Linked DNA regions of Homo sapiens: region 1 is linked to region 2. The links are contacts of gene promoters, found by promoter capture Hi-C in blood cells and fetal thymus (Javierre and others, 2016). All regions are on one chromosome and are shown on one strand. Each heading gives the region's core, a stretch centred on a gene start or on the middle of the fragment in contact. The rest is flanking DNA. Distances are from core to core; before and after follow the strand shown. Region 1 has its middle 7.7 kb from the start of NPC1. Region 2 holds the start of SLC35D4 (solute carrier family 35 member D4).

Evidence for each region. Contacts are between HindIII fragments. The CHiCAGO score rates a contact against its expected background, and 5 or more counts as called.
Region 1: a fragment that was not itself captured here is called in contact with the fragment with the promoter of SLC35D4 in region 2 in 1 of 17 cell types (neutrophils); the score reaches 5.9 in neutrophils.

The regions. Positions count from the first base shown.
Region 1 is chr18:23,591,408-23,596,936 of GRCh38, reverse strand. No RefSeq gene overlaps it. Among named protein-coding and RNA genes, the nearest start is that of NPC1, 7.7 kb to the right of the region's middle. The HindIII fragment of the contact is 6,264 bases long and covers 1-5,529 here.
Region 2 is chr18:23,436,599-23,442,203 of GRCh38, reverse strand. SLC35D4 (solute carrier family 35 member D4) reads left to right here and starts at 4,243. Exons shown (of 15, transcript NM_032933.6): 1 at 4,243-4,423. The coding sequence starts at 4,352. RefSeq lists a silencer at 4,115-4,214. The HindIII fragment of the contact is 5,255 bases long and covers 2,813-5,605 here.

The sequences.
Region 1 (5,529 bases), core at 1,478-3,977, 160 kb before region 2:
TAGGGAAGAATAGCAGATTTGGGGTGAGGAGATAGAGTTTGGACATGTTCACTTGGAAGGATCTGTGAAATAGATTCTAGAAGGCAGTTGGAAATAACAAATTAATGTTTAGGACAAGGCTGTTGTTACTAGTGTAGGCATCATCTGCATAGAGGTGATGGTCAAAGTCATGGGATGAATGAGGTCCCCACGGAGAATCTGCTGAGAATAAAAGAGATGGCAAAATGGCTGGGCATAGTGGCTACTGTCTGAAGGGAGGCTGAGGCGGGAGGATTACTTGAGCCCAGGAATTGAAGACCAGCCTGGGCAACATAGCAAGGCCCTGCCTCTAAATTTAATACATTTTTTTTTAAACAGATGGCAAACTGAGAATAAACTTTGAAAGAAGGGAACTCAGCAAAGAGAATGAAACAATGAACAAGAGCAGGAAGTGAAACATAATGAGGAAGGAGAAGGTCTCCAGGAGAGGAGAGCAGGCAGCGAACCACGTGAAGAAGTGTGGCCATATGACACAAAGGCTGGGAAACTCGAGGCTGCTTTTGCTCCACCACTCTGTCTTTGATGAGCTTGTTCAGTCATCAAAGAATTCTGGCCTTGTGGCTGGGCGTGGTGGCTCTTGCCTGTAATCCCAGCAGTTTGGGAGGCCGAGGAGGGTGGATCACGAGGTCAGGAGTTCCAAGACCAGCCTGGTCAAGATGTTGAAACCCCATCTCTACTAAAACTACAAAAATTAGCCGGGCACAGGGGCAGGTACCTGTAATCCCAGCTACTCGGGAGGCTGAGGCAGGAGAATCGCTTGAACCCGGGAGGCAGAGGTTGCAGTGGGCCGAGATCGTGCCACTGCACTCCAGCCTGGGCTACAGAGTGAGACTCCATCTAAAAAAAAAAAGAAAAAAAAAAGAATTCTGGCCTTGTAATGGAGATTATGGATAAGGATTGGTGAGTGGACCTGGAGCTAACGTTAAATTAAATAAAATTATTCCCTTGAAATGATTCTACTCCTCACTGGATAGAATTGTATTTGTGAAGATACTCCTGATGCTTTCTAGGAATCACCGGCCAACTATCAGTGTGCATTGCCTCTGCTCTGTACTAAGACTAAGGCAACATGAAAAAAACAGACTTGGTACCACCCTATAGAGATGCAAATAGGCGTGGTGCAATGCAAACAGGCCTGGTCAAATGAGATAATTTATGGTTGCGGATCTATACCTATGCTGGTTGATTGGTTTTAATTGGTGATTTTTTTTTTTTTTGAGACAGGGTCCTGGTCTGTCACCCAAGATGGAGTGTAATGGCACGATCTCAACTCACTGCAACCTCTGCATCCTGGGTTCGAACGATCCTCCTTCCTCAGCCTACCAAGTAGCTGGGACTACAGGCACGCACCACCATGCCTGGCTAACTTTCGTATTTTGGTAAAGCTGGAGTTTCGCCATGTTGCCCAGGCTGGCCTCCAAATCTTGGACTCAAGCGATCTGCCTGCCTTGGCCTCTCAAAGTGCTAGGATTACAGGCATGAGCCACCTTGCCCAGCCAAATTGGTGAACTTCATCTCACTGTGAAAAGATGCTAAAGTGCTTAGAACATGCCTGGCTGTGAACAAAGCCACACCATGTTATGATATTTCATGCCATTGAGCCATAGCAGCTCAGACCCTAGTATTTGTACTTCAAAGCATGGAGAAAAACAAAAACAAAAAATGACAGGCAAAACTAGCATTAGACATTCTAGTCGAGAAATGTGAAAATAATTATTCTTCTGCTTAATGTAATGAACACATGGAGGGTAAACTAGTCACACAGAGGTGTTTTCTCTGGGCCCTCTGACTATACTTAGCCCTCAGTTAAATAACCTATGTATCACTGGGTCTGGAAAGTCTTCGATTCTTTTCCTGGTGACCTAATCCTTATTTTTAGCAATACTTTCAGGTAATTTTAAAATATGAGTGAGGCTAGGCATGGTGGCTCATGCTTCTAATCCCAGCACTTTGGGAGGCTGGGGTGGGAAAAGCACTTGAGCCCAAGAGTTTGAGACTAGCCTGGGCAACAAAGTGAGACTCCGTCTGTACAAAAAATACAAAAAATTAGCCTGGCATGGTGGTGTGTGCCAGAAGTCCCAGCTACTCAGGAGGCTAAGGTAGGAGGATCACTTGAGCCTTGGGAGGTCGAGCTGTGATCTCACTACTGCACTCCAGCCTGGGTAATAGAGCAATTCCCTCTCTCTCAAAAAAAAAATTAATTTATTAATATGAATGAGGTTATGTTTCAACAAAGGAATTCAGCTAGGCACAGTGGCTCACATCTATAATCCCAGCACTTTGGGAGGCCAAGGCGGGCAGATCACTTGAGGCCAGGAGGTCGAGACCAGCCTGGCCAACATGCCGAAACCCTGTCCCTACTAAAACTTAATAAATTAGCCAGGTGTGGTGGTGGGCGCCCATAATCCCAGCTACTCAGGAGGCTGAGGCAGGAAAATCACTTGAACCCAGGAGGCGGAGGTTGCAGTGAGCCAAGATCGCACCACTGAACTCCAGCCTGGGCGACAGAGTGTGACTCCATCTCAAAAAGTAAAAATAAAATAAAGTAAAATAAAAATAACATAAAGGAAGTTAATTAAAGATCTTCAGTTCTTAGGTGACATGTCAGCCTTATCTCTGTCAACAGAAAAAATTCCTTCCGCTATCTTTGGTTCTTCTTCCCTCCCTCACTAGGATTGAATCCTCCGAGCTTTAATGAGTGAAATGCTGTTGTTATTCCTACATTTCAAGTTTTAAGAATAGTCTTAGAAAGTCTTCAGTTTACAGGAGTTGGACTCTCCATTTTAGGAAACATTTGATCAAAAACCACCCCTGGCAAAGGAAACTATGTCCTGTGAGCAAATCCTGCAGGGAAGGCAATGCCAGTTTGAAACCCTGACTGCTAAACCACAAGTCATTCCAACTCTGGTAGCATCCTAACTGAGTGGAAGTTACACCACAACCCATGACTGGATTAATCACCAACTCAAACATCCTTCCTTACTAGGATGAGTAACATTTTACCAGAATTCTGAGCAACAATGCCCATTTCCGAGTAGGTCATAACCATTGGTACTAAAGTCATGAGTTGTAGCTGTAAGCTATTTTAAATGAAGATGTCTATAAAATTTGGCTTGCGTAAGTAAAGAGTTTAAAAAGTCTATCACAGAACCCAAAGTAATTGAGTGTGTATACTGAACACATGACCTGTACAACAGTGCTCACAGCACCTTTATTTGTAACAGCCCAAACTGGAAGAAGAAACAACCCAGATGTCTGCCATGATATGTTTGAGCCATGGAATACTACACAGCAATTCTTTTAAAAGATGCTACCACCACAAGTAATGTGGATGAGCCACACACATAATGTTCAGTGAAAGAAACCAGACGCAGAGGAGTATGATTCCCTTTACATGAAGTTCAAGGACAGGCAAAACCAACTTACAGTGAGAGAAATCAGAAGAGTGGTTGCCTCCCGGTTAAAGGAGGGGTGATGATATCGACTGGGAAAGGGGCATAAAGGAGGCTTCTGAAGTGCTAAAGTTTCCATATCCTTCCTCTGGGTGTTGGCTACATGGATGTTGTGGTTGCCAGCCTCCAAGATGGCCCCAGTGCTCCCCTCCTCTTGTCCTTGTCTGGTCCCCTTCCTACACTGCATCAGGACTGGTCTGTGTGCCCAGTATTACATGGCAGAAGTGATGGCATATAACATTTGAGGCTAACTCATAACAGACATTATGGCTCTGCCTTGCTCTCAATCCCTTTTGGATCACTCCTTCTGGAGGAAGCCAGCTGCCAAGTCCTGAGGACACTCAGCAGCCTATGGAGAGGAGGAACTGAGGCCTCCTTCCCACAGCATCTTTTTTTTTTTTTTTTTTGAGACAGAGTCTTGCTCAGTCACCCAGGCAGGAGTGCAGTGGCATGATCTCAGCTCACTGGAACCTCGGCCTCCTGGGTTCAAGCAATTCACCTGCCTCAGCCTCCCGAGTAGTTGAGATTACAGACATGTGCAACCATGCCCGGCTAATTTTTGTATTTTTAGTGGAGACAGGGTTTCACCATGTTGGCCAGGCTGGTCTCGAACTCCTGACCTCAAGTGATCCGCCCACCTTGGCCTCCCAAAGTGCTGGGATTACAGGTGTGAGCCACCGAGCCCAGCTTCCCACAGCATCTTCAACAGCAGATCCTCCAGCCCCAGTCAAGCCTTCAGATGATGGTAGCCTGGGCCAACTTCTTGGCCATAACCTCAGGAGAGACCCTGAGCCAGAACCACCTAGAACCACCCAAATCCCTGACTGGCAGAAACTGGGATAAAATAAATGTTTGTTCATTTAATATACTAAGTTTTGGAGTAATTTGTTATTCAGTAATAGACAACTAATAAAAGTGTTTAACACATAAAAGAAACTTGGCTGGGCGCAGTGGCTCATGCCTGTAATCCCAGATCTTTGGGAGGCCAAGGCAGGTGGATCACTTGAGTCCAGGAGTTTGAGACCACCCTGGGCAACATGGCGAAACCCCGTCTTTACTAAAAATACACAAATTAGCCAGGCATGGTGGAGTGTGCCTATGATCCCAGCTACTTGGGATGCTGAAGCACAAGAATCACTTGAACCCAGGAGGCAGAGTTTACAGTGAGCCAAGATCACACCACTGCACTCTAGCCTGGGTGACACAGTGAGACTCAGTCTCAAAAAAAAAAAGTAGAAAACTCATCAAGCTGTACAGCTAAGTTCTGTATACCTCATATATGAATATTATATCTTAATTAAAAGGAAAAGTCTATTAACAAAAAGAGTTCTCAAAAATGCTCAACCTGAACCTCCTTAGGGGGTTGGCAGAAGCATTAACTAAAGCTCTCCTATATTTCACCAAAATGTGTTGGCAATTCGTAGCCTGCTGGAGGAAGGGAGGTGTGAGCTGTTCCCTGTGTTCAGCTGGACAGCCTCCCACTCTCTATAGGCGCTTCTTTTAGAGCCAGCTCCACTGCTGGTCCTGGAGGTTTTTTGGGGAAGGCGATCAAAAAATTTACAATGTCCATGACTACTATAGGGAATAGTTCTACGATGCTGGCTGCGAAAACCAGATCAACTTATTAGGCACAGTAGACACAGTGATAATTTTACTGTCCCATGAAAATGTTTTAATTTTAATTTCTTTTGAAATCAGAACAAAAATAAGAATACTGTAATAATGAGCATATAATAATGAATTCAGCCAGCGTTATATGTGTCTTTATAATGCAATTGGAAACTCTCATTTTAAATTTTTTTTTTTGAAGGAAAAAGGGGTCCTTAAAGGCAAAGGTGCCTGGGGCCCACACAAGTCATAATGCAGCCCTGAGTAAAAGGAAAGGTGCTAGGGACTGAATTGTGCTCCCCCAAATGTCTTGTGTTGAAGCCCTAACCCCCCAAGGTGACTGTATTTGAAGATAAGGCTTTTAGGAGGTAATTAAGGTTAAATAAAGTCATAAGGGAGGGGCCTTAATTCAATAGGATTGTTGAAGAAG
Region 2 (5,605 bases), core at 2,994-5,493:
ATCCTAACTAATGTAGTCTCTCAGCTTCTTTCCAATTTCTTCTCTGTTTTGAAGCCATTGGAATCCGCCCCCGACCCCACATGTCTGGAAACAATGTTAATAATTCCATCACATACGTTTATACATACCACTCCACTAGCATTTCTGCATTTGATCAGAAACCAATTTCACATTCTGCCTATTTTTTGACACTTTAAAATAAAATTAAATAGCTAAATAATACAATCTTATATTAGAACTATTAGATTTTGGCTGGGCACGGTGGCTCACGCCTGTAATCCCAGCACTTTGGGAGGCCAAGGCAGGTGGACGGCTTGAGTCCAGGAGTTCAATACCAGCCTGGGCGACATGGCAAAAGTTCATCTCTACAAAAAATACAAAAATTAGCTGGGCATGGTAGCATGTGCCTGTAGTCTGGCTACTCAGGAGACTGAGATGGGAGGATTGCTTGAGCCCGGGAGGCAGAGATTGCAGTGAACCAAGATTATGCCACTGCACTGCAGCCTGGGTGACAGAGCAAGACCTCACCTCAAAGGAAAAAAAAAGAAAAGAATGATTAGATTTCTTTGATAATAATATATAACAGAAGTGTGATTAAACTCAATATAGTATGAATACCTTTAATTAGGAACTGAATTGGCATACTCATTACTTTTTAGGCAACACTGTACAAAGCCTGGACAATAGTGAAACAAAGCAATAACAACTAGCAAAGAAGTTTACCAACAAAAGTGTTTCTGCCAATGCAATTTAAGTTACTCATTTGCTATAGTCGTTATCCTCTTAATAGCAATATCCCTTTAAAGGCAGTCTCCTGTGAGGTTGTTTGATGTCCATGTGGCAAGCTGGTGACTGTAGGTGTCTTTTGTGTTATGGATTCCAGGCCTTTTTGGTATTATATGTGTTCCATGCTATTTGACATTTTAAAATCCCATTCCTACATCACTTCATTGATGCATTCATTCAGTTGATAGATTCCTTCAACATGCCTTTATCAGTGTACCTAGTTTGTGTAAGGCACTGAGCTAAGCATAGGGACGCCTATGTGCTCCAAGAGCTGCCATGTGGCTGAGGAGAGAGGGTATGCATCACCCTGACTCTAATACAGCTTCTTTTTATTGTTTTAATTTTTTTGGGGGAAAGGGTATTGCTCTGTCACCCAGCCTGGAGTGCAGTGGTGTGATCTTGGCTCACTGCAACCTCCGGCTCCCAGGTTCAAGTGATTCTCCTGCCTCAGCCTCCCAAGTAGCTGGGATTGCAGGCGTACCCCACCATGCCCAGCTAATCTTTTGTATTTTTAATAGAGATGGGGTTTCGCCATGTTGGCCAGGCTGGTCTTGAACTCCTGACCTCAGGTGATCTGCCCACCTTGGCCTCCCAAAGTGTTGGGATTACAGGCACACTCCACCATGCCCAGCTAATTTTTTGTATTTTTAGTAGAGATGGGGTTTCACCATGTTGGCCAGACTGGTCTTGAACTCCTGACCTCAGGTGATCCACCCGCCCCAGCCTCCCAAAGTGCCGGGATTATAGGTGTGAGCCACCACACTCAGCCTAATACAGCTTCTTAACTGGTGTGGCTGGGCAAGAGTTACAGGAGTTCCTCCTCAACTTCAGGGAGGCCTGGAAGCATTTCAGACTCTAAGCAGTGTCAGCAATTTGGCCTGGGGCTCTGAACAAATACTATCATTTTCTTCATGAACCACAATATGGAAAAAACGTAAGATGCTAATTATTGTAATACGTATTAAAAAGTAGTACTGGAAAAGAGAGGAGAATAAGTTATGCCTGAAGTGCTTGAGAAGAGCTAGATGTAAGTAGGATTCCCACAGGCAGAAAGTAAAGGGAAGTGGAAAGTAATGATTTAAGAAAATACACACACGCTGTGATTCTGCAATCCTCCTGTTGGGAATCTATTCTACAGAAATTAAACCAGCAGGAGGTAAAGACATATGTACAAAGATGTTTATTATAGCCTTGTTTGTTGTAGCAAAAGACTAGAAACAACATAATTATGTCAACAGCAGAATGGTTGAATACATTACGGTATATCCATACTATGGAATGCCTGCAGCTTTTTTAAAAAATTAAATCTCTATGTGTTGACCTGTAGTTGTAAAAGTAAGTTGTTTAGCAATGTGAATAGCTAGATCCATTTTCGTGAGGCAACAAATTACAAATGGGTATATGTTGATATGTGAATACGGAGGAAGGTGTAGAAGGATACACCAACCTGTTGGTATTGGTTATGTGAGTGGTTAAGAGTGTGGTATTGGTTTGCTAATTTTTCTTTTATAAATCTCTATTAGTCTTGTTACAATGATTTTTTTTTTTTTTTTTTTTTTTTTGAGACGGAGTCTCACTTTGTCTCCCAGGCTGGAGTGCAGTGGCACGATCTTGGCTCACTGCAAGCTCCGCCTCTCAAGTTCACGCCATTCGCCTGCCTCAGCATCCCGAGTACCTGGGACTACAGGCGCTCGCCACCACGGCCGGCTAATTTTTTTGGTATTTTTTTAGTAGACACGGGGTTTCACCATGTTAGCCACGTTGGTCTCGATCTCCTGACCTCGTGATCTGCTTGCCTCGGCCTCCCAAAGTGCTGGGATTACAGGCATGAGCCACCGCGCCTGGCCACAATGATCTTTTTAAATTGTCGTTAAAGATTGGTGTTTTGGAGAGGGAGACACAAACTCTGGGGCAAGAGTGATAGGTGAGAAGCGAGTGTAGGCTTGTGAAGGGGCCTCCTTGTGAAGTGTTAACTTCTTACATGATTTTATTTCTATGGAGAGGAAAATTTAGTGCATTTGAAGCTTCATCTCCTCTCTTCCTGTTCTGTATTTTTGCTTTTTAATAACCCAGTGTACTAGTCTGTTTTCACGCTGCTGATAAAGACTTACCCGAGACTTGGTAATTTATAAAGAAAAAGAGGTTTAATGGACTCACAGTTCCACGGGGCTGGGGAGGCTTCATAATCATGGTGGAAGGCAAAAGGCACGTCTTACATGGTGGCAGGCAAGAGAGAAAAAATGAGAGCCAAGCGAAAGGGGTTTCCCCTTATAAGACCATCAGCTCTGGGGAGACTTATTCACTACCACGAGACGAATATGGGGGAAACTGCCCCCATGATTCAATTATCTGCCACCAGGTCCTTCCCATAACATGTGGGAATTATGAAAGCTACCATTCAAGATGAGATTTGGGGACACAGCCAAACCATATCATCCAGTCTTGGTAGAGAAAGCTATACCCATCTGTACAAGTGGTTTGAAGGAGACTGTGGGAGAAAAGGGAGGGAAGGGGTGACCAGCCTACCTCCATCTCTATGTTGGTCCCCTCTGCAGACCAACCAGCAGGCCCAGGAAGAGACCTGTGGAAAAGTGAGCAGAGGCAAAGGACTGCGATGAGACAGTGGTGGCTGGGGAGTGGCTTCAAGGGGACAAGCCGAGGTCAGCCCTCCCTCAATGCTGGAGGGAGCAGAGAGAAACAAGGCATGCTTCTGAAAAACAGAAAAATTACATAAGGGTTGGTGTGTCGTTTTCCATCCACTGCTCCAGCACCGAGAGCCAGGAGGACTTTTGCTGTGGCTTAAGAGTGATGGTTTCCCCGTGTGTGGGTGTTTCTGAAAATCTGTGTGTTTCTACAGGCAGAGAACACTGGCACTTTTTGCTATTGTCCAAGTCCATCAATAGGTTTTCTTGCATGTTTACTAACATTTGCCGGAAGCCTCATGAGTCCAGTTTTCCACCCTATAGACTAGGAATAGGAATAGGAATAGGGGCTGTGCTTGGGAAAGGGTTCTTATTTTATAGAAATGTCAAGAGAATGGAATGACTTTAAATACAAACAAAACTCAAAAAACCTATACTCAATTCCAGTTCCTTCTTCCTTCACCTTCCCTCTTTTAAGTGAACATTTGTTGCTGTTACCTTTTTTGTGTCATTTGCCAAAGCGCTACAGACTCAGTGGAGAAAATTGGGAAAATTCAGTGAAGCACGGGTAATATTTTGGTCTCATAGTTTAGAGATAGCGATGAACATTTTTCTTTAAACACTGATGGGGTATTGTGAACTGCGGTATGCTTTTTTCCTCTTCTGCCACTTTCTACTCTTTAAAAGAAGATAAAAAAATAAAAAATAAAAAATAAAAGAAGAATGACCGTCCTTCGAGGGCGCGGCCCCTTTAAGAAGGCAGACGCCGGGGGCGGTCCCCGCGCTGATTGGCGGAGCTCGGAGCCACGTGGCCGTCTCTGGGCGGCTGCTGCCGCTGCCGCTGCTGCTGCTGCGGGGGTCGGGCGGCGGCCAGGGGATTTGGGCAGGCACCGTGGATCCCCGAGAAGGGGACGAGTTGACAGATGTGCGTGAGGAGGTCTCTGGTCGGCCTCACCTTTTGTACCTGCTACCTGGCTTCTTACCTCACGAACAAGGTGAGGGGGCGGGCGCGGGAGGCAGCGATTGCACGTGGGAGGTTTGAGTCGGAGAATCTTCCCGTGACAAACGGAGCCTCCTCCTGCTTTTTACCTCATTCTTCCTGGTGGCGATGGAGATGGAGAGCGAACCTCCTCCGTGTGTGGGATGCTCTTTCAGAAATAGGATTTGCCAGCCTGTACTGTCCCCGTTTCCTGCACTGTAAAGCACGGTACATCTCCAGGGAAACAGGATTTTTGGGCTGGCCATTTCCCGGGAACTTGGTTTGGGGCTGTGTGGACTAGTTTTAAGAGAAAGCAAGCAATTGGCTCCTGCTCCCCCGGGGAGGAAGAGTCAGAAGAAATCTGACACATCCTGCCTTTTTTCTAAACACGCCCCTGTCCCAGAGCCCCCGTGAAGTTCCAGAAGCCTTTAAATAGAAGAGATTAAGCCGTCTCCCCCTCACACTGCTGATTCCCGAATCAATTTTTTTGTACGTCTCCATTGTAAGCACTTCAGGAGTTTTTCATGGAATTATTATTTTTTAAAATAAAACATACATTTAGTTTTAGGTTTAAACTAATGTCATGACATCATGAAAACCTTTTGGTGAGGAGGCAGAGAAGCAGTGGTGCCAGCTTTGGGGTTTTGTTTTGCAAGGAGAGGGAAGCTGGCTTTAGGTTTGGTACCACGCAGGGAAAGGTTGGATCCAATAGGACCGAGTGGGCATGGCTGGGGCATTACCTGCTGGCCTGGACTCTGGGCTGGCCCCAGCCAAAGTGGGAATACAGGGTGCAAGACCACCTGGCCCCACTGTGGGGTCTTACTGCGGGCTCCCCACCTGCTCCCCGCTCTTCCTTTCTCCTCTCTTCCTCTCTGGAAAAGAACCATCGACAAACAGCATTTCCTTCTACCTCCTCTCCTACAATGAATGGCTGCCTTTATATATTCAGAGGATGCTCCCCAACCCCCTTTCCTTCTCCAGTTGATTTTTATTTTTATTTTTTTGAGATAGAGTCTCGCTCTGTCACCCAGGCTGGAGTGCAGTGACGTGATCTCGGCTCACTGCAACCTCTGCCTCCTGGGTTCAAGCGATTCTCCTGCCTCAGCCTCGTGAGTAGCTGGGGCTACAGGTGTGCGCCACCACGCTGGGCTAATTTTTGTATTTTTAGTAGAGACGGGGTTTCACCATGTTGTCCAGG